Regions from separate parts of the Homo sapiens genome. Here all the other regions are linked to region 1. Evidence: promoter capture Hi-C in human tissues and cell types (Jung and others, 2019). All regions are on one chromosome and are shown on one strand. The core of a region is centred on a gene start or on the middle of the fragment in contact, and the rest is flanking DNA. Distances in the headings are between cores, read along the strand shown.

Evidence for each region. The method cuts DNA at HindIII sites, captures the fragments that hold promoters and counts their contacts. A contact is called where the count stands out against the background at its distance.
Region 2: a contact is called between the fragment with the promoter of TUBB4B here and the fragment with the promoter of CLIC3 in region 1, in 1 of the 25 tissues and cell types used here (heart right ventricle).
Region 3: a contact is called between a fragment that was not itself captured here and the fragment with the promoter of CLIC3 in region 1, in 2 of the 25 tissues and cell types used here (dorsolateral prefrontal cortex and spleen).

What each region holds. Positions count from the first base shown.
Region 1 is chr9:136,994,904-136,998,145 of GRCh38, reverse strand. It overlaps CLIC3 (chloride intracellular channel 3), which reads left to right and starts at 1,578. Exons shown (of 6, transcript NM_004669.3): 1 at 1,578-1,635; 2 at 2,389-2,498; 3 at 2,579-2,704; 4 at 2,854-2,960; 5 at 3,041-3,216. The coding sequence starts at 1,603. The HindIII fragment of the contact is 25,713 bases long and covers 1-3,242 here.
Region 2 is chr9:137,239,507-137,242,748 of GRCh38, reverse strand. It overlaps TUBB4B (tubulin beta 4B class IVb), which reads right to left and starts at 1,462. Exons shown (of 4, transcript NM_006088.6): 1 at 1,332-1,462; 2 at 920-1,028; 3 at 728-838; 4 at 1-253. The coding sequence starts at 1,388. RefSeq lists silencers at 1,058-1,287, 1,618-2,437. The HindIII fragment of the contact is 17,682 bases long and covers 1-2,907 here.
Region 3 is chr9:136,811,596-136,814,837 of GRCh38, reverse strand. The region is part of intron 1 of RABL6 (RAB, member RAS oncogene family like 6); the gene reads right to left. It also overlaps the pseudogene NCLP1. Among named protein-coding and RNA genes, the nearest start is that of CCDC183-AS1, 4.4 kb to the right of the region's middle. The HindIII fragment of the contact is 4,462 bases long and covers 1-3,242 here.

The DNA of each region.
Region 1 (3,242 bases), core at 329-2,828:
TTCTTGAGACGGGCGTGAGGTGAATGGTCTTCCTGTGTCTTGTTTTCTTTTTCCTTCTGAGCCACCGGTTCACGGCCTCTGTCCGTGCCGTCATTTTTCCTGTGGGTTTGTGAGGGTGCGTCTGTCGGTGTTAAAGACACAGGATGCCGGGGCAGCAGAGGGGGCTGGGGGCCTGGGGCTTCTCTGTGGTTGGCCATTTGCCTGCCAGGGATGTGGGAAACCAGCAAGCGGAGCTATAACCACAGTGTCCAGAAAGAGCTGAAATACTAGGGCTTGGAATCGAGGTGGAGGCCGGATGGAGGGAAATTGAGGTTCAGGACACCAAAGGATGGGGCAGCCACATGGTATTTCCAAGGCTCTGTGTCCAGGAGCCCCGACTGGCGTGGTATCCAGAGAAGCATCAGGCTGGGCTGACTGGGGCAGCACTGGAGTGTGTTCCACCGGGGACGGATGAGGGGCCCGTACCAAGGCCCTGGGGAGAAGGTGAGCAGGAGAGCAGTGCCACCTCAGCTGCCCTGTCCAGGCTGGTGAGGCACCACACCGCCTGGGGGAGGTGTGGCCAGGCCAATCCTGTGGGCACCCCAGGTCTCTGGGTGGAATCTCCCCTCGGTGTACCTCCCTGGGGCTGCACCCTAAAGCGTCAGGGCCAGGTGGGAGGAAGGCACAGTTGGCGACCCCAAAGGGCCAGACTGAACTGTGGGTTCCAATCACGCCAGGAGGCTCAGCGCAGGCTCACACCTGTGGACCACCACCCTCCCCTGGCCTCTTTCTTCCAGCCACGCAGGCTGTGGCTTCTAACCCCTCTCCTGCTGCTTCTTTTTAAAGGTTAAGGGGTTGGGGGTAAGAAACCTGCGCTGAGCGCCAGTGGGAGGGATGGGAGGTGGGGTGGAGACCTGCACTGCCGGCCAAACACCAAAGCCAGGCTGGCCTCCCCGCCCTGTTGCGGGCAGGTCTGGAATTTGAGCCCTGCCCTGAGCGGGGAGGGCCCTGCCTGACTGCTCCGTAGCTGGGAAGGGGCGGCTCCCCCAGGTGGGCTTATCACCCTCCCGATGCCCTGGTGCTGCAGATGGGGAACTGAAGCCAGGCTGGGCAGGCCATTTCTCCTGCTCACCCACACCCACTGGCTTTCTGGGCTGGGAGCCCTGACAAGGGGTATTTGCGGAAGGGAGAGCCATAGGGCAGGGTCTGAGCTGGGTTCACGGTGGAGGTGGTCCTGACCCAGAGCCGCCCCCTTCCCAGGTGACACCCCCTGCACCCTTCTGGCCTGTAGGCTCTCCCTATGCCCTGCCCCCTGGTCTCCACCCACCACGCTGGCTCCCAGCACACTCAGTACCGGGTGGGCGGATCTCCGTGCACACCAGACTCAAGTCCAGGGCAGCCCCCCACACCATTCCGCCACCCTGAGGTCACACCCTCAGGCTCAGACACCCCGGGGCCGGGCTGGCGTTGCTCAGGCAGCTGGTTCTGCGCGCTGGGCAGCTTCATCTGCCCGCCTAGGTGGCTCCACGGGGCGGGCCCCTCGGCCAGGGAGGGCGGGGCGCACAGGGAGACTTAAAGAGCTCCCCAGGTCCCCACCCGCGCCTGACCGCGGCAGCTCCCACCATGGCGGAGACCAAGCTCCAGCTGTTTGTCAAGGTGCAGGGCGGACTCAGCTGCGGGGAGGGTGTCTGGGAGGAAGCGCTTTTCTGGGCTTTGCTTTCTGTGGCAGGCTGTGGGGTGGGCCTCCCAGTAATGTCTGAGCCCCTTCCTGTGGGTGGCTAGGGGGACTCAGGCAGCCCTACAGAGGCTGAGTAAAGTGGGACCCAGCGAGTCACCCAGAGAGGGGTCAGTGGCCCTGGTCCTGCTCCCAGCCTTGGCTCCTGGGCCCAGCCCAGTCTTCTGGAGGAGAGCTCCTTGGTGGGGAGGTACCAAGCAGGCTGCCAACAGTGGAGCTTACGGTCGGTGTTCCAGGATGGGGGGTGCTGGGCCAGGCAGCCCCATCAGCTCTCAGGTCGGGGACTGGGGTGGGGGACTGATGTGCTGTTGGCCACAGTGCCCAGTCTCATGTGTGAATCACTCAGAAAACAGCTTGTGAGGCCCACCCCACCCCTGCAACCAGCTTTTGGGGACTGAGCCCAGGGGCCTGGCCTCTGTCCAGGCTCTGACAAGATTCCAGGGGCCAAGCCTGCCCCAGGCCTCAAGGCTCCCAGCAGCTCTGCCCCCCTCCCCACGTTCTGGGGACCAAGTCAAGGGCCCTCACTGGGCACTTGGAAGTCGCGCCGACCAAGCTGGAGCCCTGGCGTCCCTCCAATCCCACTGGCAGTGGGAGGCGGGTCCCGCCCAGCCTGGCGGCAGGATGCCTGGGTCTGCTTCCAGCCCTGACCCCCCACCCCCGCTCCACCCACCCAGGCGAGTGAGGACGGGGAGAGCGTGGGTCACTGCCCCTCCTGCCAGCGGCTCTTCATGGTCCTGCTCCTCAAGGGCGTACCTTTCACCCTCACCACGGTGGACACGCGCAGGTGAGGCCCCATCCTGTGGACCCCCGCCTGGCCTCGCACACTGGTGGGCCGGCCTCCTCCCACCCCGCTGCTGCCCGCAGGTCCCCGGACGTGCTGAAGGACTTCGCCCCCGGCTCGCAGCTGCCCATCCTGCTCTATGACAGCGACGCCAAGACAGACACGCTGCAGATCGAGGACTTTCTGGAGGAGACGCTGGGGCCGCCCGAGTGAGAGCCCCGGCAGGGTGGGAGGGGAAAAGAGGGGGGCCCAGGGAGGACGCGCGCAAGACAGAGCCCAGGAAGGCGCTGTGGGGGTACTGTGGGGCCGGGACGGGGCTGCCCCCAGTCTAATGGAGTCCCACCCCCTCATCCCGCAGCTTCCCCAGCCTGGCGCCTCGTTACAGGGAGTCCAACACCGCCGGCAACGACGTTTTCCACAAGTTCTCCGCGTTCATCAAGAACCCGGTGCCCGCGCAGGACGAAGGTGAAGCGGGGTCAGGGGGTCGGGTGCCCAGGCGGGAGGGCGCCCTGGGCCTGGTCCTCACCGCGCCGCCTGCCCCCTAGCCCTGTACCAGCAGCTGCTGCGCGCCCTCGCCAGGCTGGACAGCTACCTGCGCGCGCCCCTGGAGCACGAGCTGGCGGGGGAGCCGCAGCTGCGCGAGTCCCGCCGCCGCTTCCTGGACGGCGACAGGCTCACGCTGGCCGACTGCAGCCTCCTGCCCAAGCTGCACATCGTCGACGTGAGCACGGAAGGTGGGCGGGCGGG
Region 2 (3,242 bases), core at 213-2,712, 240 kb before region 1:
TCTGACACTTTGGGCGAAGGCACCACACTAAACGTGTTCATGATCCTGTCTGGGTACTCCTCCCGGATCTTGCTGATGAGGAGGGTACCCATCCCAGACCCAGTCCCCCCACCCAGGGAGTGGGTCAGCTGGAAACCCTGCAGGCAGTCACAGCTCTCAGCCTCCTTTCTCACAACATCCAGCACCGAGTCCACCAGCTCCGCGCCTTCTGTGTAGTGCCCCTTGGCCCAGTTGTTCCCAGCACCACTCTGACCTGTGAGAGAACACAGCTAATCATTTGTCAGCCAGGTAGACAGCACTACTGGTCACCGCCATGCGAAAAAAGCCGAGTGACATGGTGTGAGCTGACCACAGAATTCACCCTGGAGGTAGAGCAAACGGACCCTTCAAAGCCAAAAGACGGCAGCCTGCCCTGCTACGAATTAAGTCAGGGGCCAAACCTGACAGCTTAACAAACCCCTCCCCGGGGGGGCCACTGCCAATTCCCAAGGACAGAGGAACAGCCACTGCCCCAGCTCAGCTCCCTGCAGGGAGATTACGTGTGTGGCGGCTCCTCGCCTCGGCAGACAGCTGGACCTTGCTCCCAAAGCCGATTTAGTAGAGGGGATTGAGTGGCTCAGAGAAGAGGAGGGCGTCCAGGGGCCCCGGCTGCGCAGTTCCCACGGCGGTGCCCTTGGAGCAGCCCCTTGACCTTTGAGCCGCCGCCCAGTCCCCAGCCACGGCTCACCGAAAACGAAGTTGTCCGGCCGGAAGATCTGCCCGAAGGGCCCCGAGCGCACGGAGTCCATGGTGCCGGGCTCCAGATCCACGAGCACGGCGCGGGGCACGTACTTGCCGCCTGCGGGGACGGGAGGGCGTCAGCCAAGGCAGGGGCCGCGGGGTCCCCGGAGGGCGGTCGGGGAAGGGGCCGGGGCCTCACCGGTGGCCTCATTGTAGTACACGTTGATGCGTTCCAGCTGCAGGTCGCTGTCCCCGTGGTAGGTGCCCGTGGGGTCGATGCCGTGCTCATCGCTGATCACCTCCCAAAACTACAAGGGACGCGGGCGGGCCCGGGCGGGCCGGGGCTGAGTCACCGCGGCCGGTGCGCAGGGAGGCAGCCCCGCCCCGGACGGGCGCGGCAGCCCGGCCCTCCCCGCCCCTCCCCCGCCCCGCGCGCCCTGGCCGCCGGGTTCCTGGGGGCTTCGGTCGCCCGGCTCGGCCAATTCCCCGCGGAGGGGGCCCGGCGGCCGCAATGCGGGGGCGCCGCCCGGCCGCTGCTGCCGCCATCTTCCCCGGCCGCCCGCCCACACCGCCCGGCAGGCCCGCCTGGCCCCAGCGCCCCGGCAACTTACCTTGGCGCCGATTTGGTTGCCGCACTGCCCGGCCTGCAAGTGCACGATTTCCCTCATGATGGCGGCGGCGGCGGCGGGGAAGCAGGAGGAAGTAGACAAACAGCAGCAGAAGAGCGGGCGCGCAGAGTGCTACAACCGACGCTCCGCCAACGCTTATATACCCTCCCTGCCCGCCTCCGCTAGTCTCGGAATGGGCTGCCAGAACGAGGCTGGCAAGCTCCCTCGTTTGATTGGCCTTGCCCCCGTCAATCAAGCTGCCTAAGGTCCGCCTTTTTAAGCCAGTTTGGTCTTTATTGGTCAGCCGCAGCCTCCTATCTCCCTATCACAATCCCCCTCCTGGCGCCGCAGTGCTCCGTCCATTGGGTGTTTCAAATGATTGATTTGCCGTCTCATTGGCTGGCTGCCGGGAGCACGCCGCCAGGCTGGCGCTATTGGCTGCGCTGCTTCAGCGTCCTGGTAACCGCCGCAGTGCCGCGGCCGGCGCGCGGACGGGGTGGGGCGCAGGCGCGAGTGCGGGCTTCCGGTCGGGCGGCGGGCAGCTGCGCTGGGGGCGCCGAGGGAGGGCGGGCCCGACGGGCCTCGGGCAAGCGCAGTCTTGGCTCTGAGCCCGGGGCCTTTCGGGAGCCGGGAAGGGCAGGCTCGGTGGCGGCCCCACGTCCAGAGTTGCGCCCTCTCTGGCCTTGCGCCGGGACACGGCATCTGCGCGCTGGGCGGGTTCTGGAGCGGGGTCCGCACGGAGCGAGCCCGGGGCCTCCAGGCCGAGGAGGCTGCGATGCCTTAAAGGCAGGAAGATACACGGGCTCGGGGGCTGCGGCGGTGGAGGGGAGCTCTCCACAGAGCCGCAGAGGCCACGGAGTTTCCTGCTCCCGGGTGCCGCACGCCCACTGCCCTCGCGGTCGCGTGAGGGGAGCACGTGGGGGACGCCGCGCCCCGAGGGCCGGGGCGGAGGGCAGGGGAGGGGAGCGGAGGGGCGAGGCCTCCCCCGCAGCTGCGCGCCCTGCCCTGTTGTGGAGACGGCGCTGGCTCTGCGCCGGTCGCCTTGGTGCCTCGGCCCCGTGAGTGCGCGAGCTCCGTGGAGACCAGGACAGCGCCCAGACCTCCCTCGGCGGGTGGGCCCCGACCTCCGGGCTCCAGGGCCGGTATTCCAACCACAGGTCAGCGCGCTGGGGCTGAAACATACTTCTGTTAATGCTTTTCCTAATTTATGACTTGATTTTTACTTGGGTGGGAAAAGAAACTTAAAATGAATTACATGTGGTTGCGCCTGTTTAAAAACAAACGGGCTGTATTTTTGCAGCATTTTTATTTTACTTAATTTATTATTCTGAGACAGAGTCTCGCTCTGTCTCCCGGGCTGGAGTGCAGTGGCGCGATCTTGGCTCCCCGCCCCCCCCCAGGTTCAAGCGATTCTTCTGCCTCAGCCTCCCCAGTAGGTGGGACTGCAGGCACCCACCACCACGCCGCTAATTTTTGTATTTTTGGTAGAAATGGGATTTCACCATGTTGGCCAAGCTGGTCTGAAACTCCTGACCTCAAGTGATCCGCCCGCCTCGGCCTCCCCAAGTGCTCGGATTTACGGGAATGAGCCGCCGTGCCTTCTACATTTTTGTAGCTTTTTTCTTTTTTTTTTGAGATGGAGTTTTGCTCTTGTCGCCTAGGCTGGAGTGCAGTGGCGCAATCTCAGCTCGCTGCAACCTCTGCCTCCCCGGTTCAAGCAATTCGCCTGCCTCACCTTCCCAAGTAGCTGGAACTACAGGTGTGCACCACCACGCCTGGCTATTTTTTTTTTTTTTTTTTTTTGAGACAGAGTCTGGCTCCGTCGCTCAGGCTGGAGTGCAGTGGCATGATCTCGGCTCACTGCAACCTCCATCTCCCGGGTTCAAGCGATTCTCCTGCCTCAGCCTCCCGAGT
Region 3 (3,242 bases), core at 377-2,876, 180 kb after region 1:
AAATGACCAAACAGCAGCTTCTGAAGCCAAGAAACACAAAGTGGAGAGTGAGAAGCACAGAACCAACTGTGCCTTTTTTTTTTTTTTAAGACAGGGTCTCACTCTCTCGCCCAGGTTGGACTGCAGTGGCGCAATCTTGGCTCACTGCAACCTTCACCTGCCAGGCTCAAGTGATTCTCCTGCTTCAGCCTCCTGAGTAGCTGGGATTACAGGCGTGTACCACTACCACCCGGCTAATTTTTGTATTTTTAGTAGAGACGGGGTTTCACCATGTTGGCCAGGCTGGAACGTCTTTCAATCTTTGTTGGAAACCTGAACTTTAACAAGTCTGCTCCTGAGTTAAAAACTAGTATCCATGGGCCAGGCCTGGTGGCTCACGCCTGTAATCCCAGCACTTTGGGAGGCTGAGGTGGACAGATCACAAGGTCAGGAGTTTGAGACCAGCCTGGCCAACATAATGAAACCCTGTCTCTACTAAAAATACAAAAATTAGCCGGGCGTAGTGGTGCGTGCCTGTAGTCCCAGCTACTGGGGAGGCTGAGGCAGGAGAATCACTTGAACCCGGGAGGTGGAAGCTGCAGTGAGCACCATTGCACTCCAGCCTGGGTAACAGAGCAAGACCCTGTCTCGAAAAAGAAAGAAAAACAAAAACTAGTATCCATGATATTTTTGCTAAAAATGATCTTGCTGTTGTGGATGTCAGAATGGGTATGACAAGGAAATCTGACTATGTGGATTTTCAAGCTGCTGAAGACCTGGAAAGAGCCTTGGAACTCGCTGGTTTGAAAGACTTTGGCAATGAAATTAAACTAGAGAAACCAAAAGGAAAAGACAGTAAGAAAGAGCAAGATGTGAGAATACTTTTGGCTACAAATCTCCCTTACAAAGTCACTCAGGATGAATTACAAGTGTTTTGGCTGGGCGCAGTGGCGCAGTGGCTCACACCTGTAATCCCAGCACTTTGGGAGGCCAAGGCAGGCAGATCACGAGGTCAGGAGATCAAGACCATCCTGGCTAACACGGTGAAACCCTGTCTCTACTAAAAATACAAAAAATTAGCTGGGTGTGGTGACGGGTGCCTGTAGTCCCAGCTACTCGGGAGGCTGAGGCAGGAAAATGGCGCAAACTTGGGAGGTGGAGCTTGCAGTGAGCTGAGATCACGGCCACTGCACTCCAGCCTGGGCAACAGAGCGAGACTCTGGCTCAAAAAACAAAAAAGTGTTTGAAGATGCTGTGGAGATTGGATTAGTCAGCAAGGATGGGAAGAGTAAAGGGACTGCTTATATTGAGGTTAAGACAGAAGCTAATGCAGAGAAAACTTCTGAAGAAACGCAGGGAACAGAGATGGATGGCCGATCTATTTCCCTGCACTATCATGGAGAGAAAGGTCTAAATCAAGACTAGAGAGACCACTTGGAGGGGTGAATCAAAAACTCTGGTTTAAGCAACCTCTCCTACAGTGCAACAGAAGAAACTCTTCAGAAAGAATCTGAGACAAGGCAACTTTTATCAAAGTGCCCCAGAACCAAAATGGCAAATCTAAAGGGTGTGCATGCACTTACAGTTCGCTTCATTTGAAGATGATAAAGCAGCTTTAAATTCCTGTAATAAAAGGGAAACTGGGGGCAGGGCAATCAGGCTGGAGTTGCAAGGACCACCTGATGCCAGGAGCCAGCCATCTAAAACTGTCTGTCAAAGGCCTGTCTGAGGACACCACTGAAGAGGCTTTAGTCATTCGACAGCTTTGTTGGGCAAGGGTAGTCACCAACCAGGAAACCGGGTGCCCCAAAGGCTTTGGCTCTGTAGATGGCAACAGTGAGGAGGATGCCAAAAGCGCCAAGGAGGCCGCGGAAGATGGTGAAATTGAGGGAAACAAAGGTAACTTGGACTGGGCCAAACCTAAGGGCGAAGGTGGCTTTGGGGTTGTGATGGAGGTAGAGGAAGCTTTGGAGGATGAGGTGGTGGCAGAAGCCAGGAAGGCTTTGGTGGGCGAGGCAGCTTCTGGGGAGGCAGAGGTGACCACAAGCCACAAGGAAAGAAGACAAAGTTTGAACGGCTTCTGTCCCTTTGTCTTTCCCTCTCCCATTTGAAAGAAAGGACGCTGGGGTTTTTATTCCGTTACCTGATCAATGACAGAGCTCTCTGAGGACATTCCAAGACAGTCTACAGTCCTGTGGTCTCCTTGGAAATTCGTATAGACAACATTTCAAGGGTAATACCTTCCTTGTTTGTTTTGACTGGATATTCATATAAACTTTTCTTTCTTTTCTTTTTTTTTTAAGACGAAGTCTCACTCTGTCGCCCAGGCTGGAGCGCAGTGGTGTGATCTTGGCTCACGGCAACCTCTGCCTCCCGGGTTCAAGCGATTCTCCTGCCTCAGCCTCCCGAGTAGCTGGGATTACAGGCATACGCCACCACACCTGGCTAATTTTCATATTTTCAGTAGAGATGAGTTTCATCATGTTGGCCAGGTTGGTCTTGAACTCCTGACCTCATGTAATCCGCCCACCTCAGCCTCCCAAAGTGCTGGGATTACAGGTGTGAGCCACCGTGCCCGGCCTGCTAAGTCCCATTTCTAAATTCGCACCAGTGTCTACTCAGAGAGGACTCTGGTTGTCCGAGCTCCTGGGCCAGGCCAGTATCAGAGCTGCACAATAATGCTCACTCAGGAGCAACTCCACAGAAAAATTCTGCACCAAATACAACTGATATTTTGTGTCCAGTCACAGTAGAAAGGGACAGACCAACTCAGGCAACAATCTTTCTTCCAAATAATTTCAAATAATTTTCCTAATAATTTTATATGCAAATAATTTCAAAATTGTGTAAACCAAAATTAAAATCCCAAGGCCTGCCAACCATCTGAATGGACTTCCTCTTCTAGGCCAGGGCCATCCAAATTTCATCTGAAAGACTGGTTCAGGCCATTATGGGAAGAGGGGAGTCAGACAGGCCTCATTGTGGCCTCCTCCCTTCTGGAATTCAGGAAAAGCTCACCAGCATTTAACATCAACACTGACTTTAAGTCTGATAAGAAACATAATCTGGCCAGGCGCGGTGGCTCACGCCTGTAATCCCAGCACTTTGGGAGGCCAAGGGGTTCGGACTGCTTGAGTAGAGGGGTCTGAGCCCAGCTGGGCAACGTGGTGAAACCCTGTCTCTCTAAAAAATACCAAAATTAGCTGGGTGTGGTGGTGCAATTGTTTTTTTTTTTTTTTTTGAGACAGGGTCTGACTCTGTCA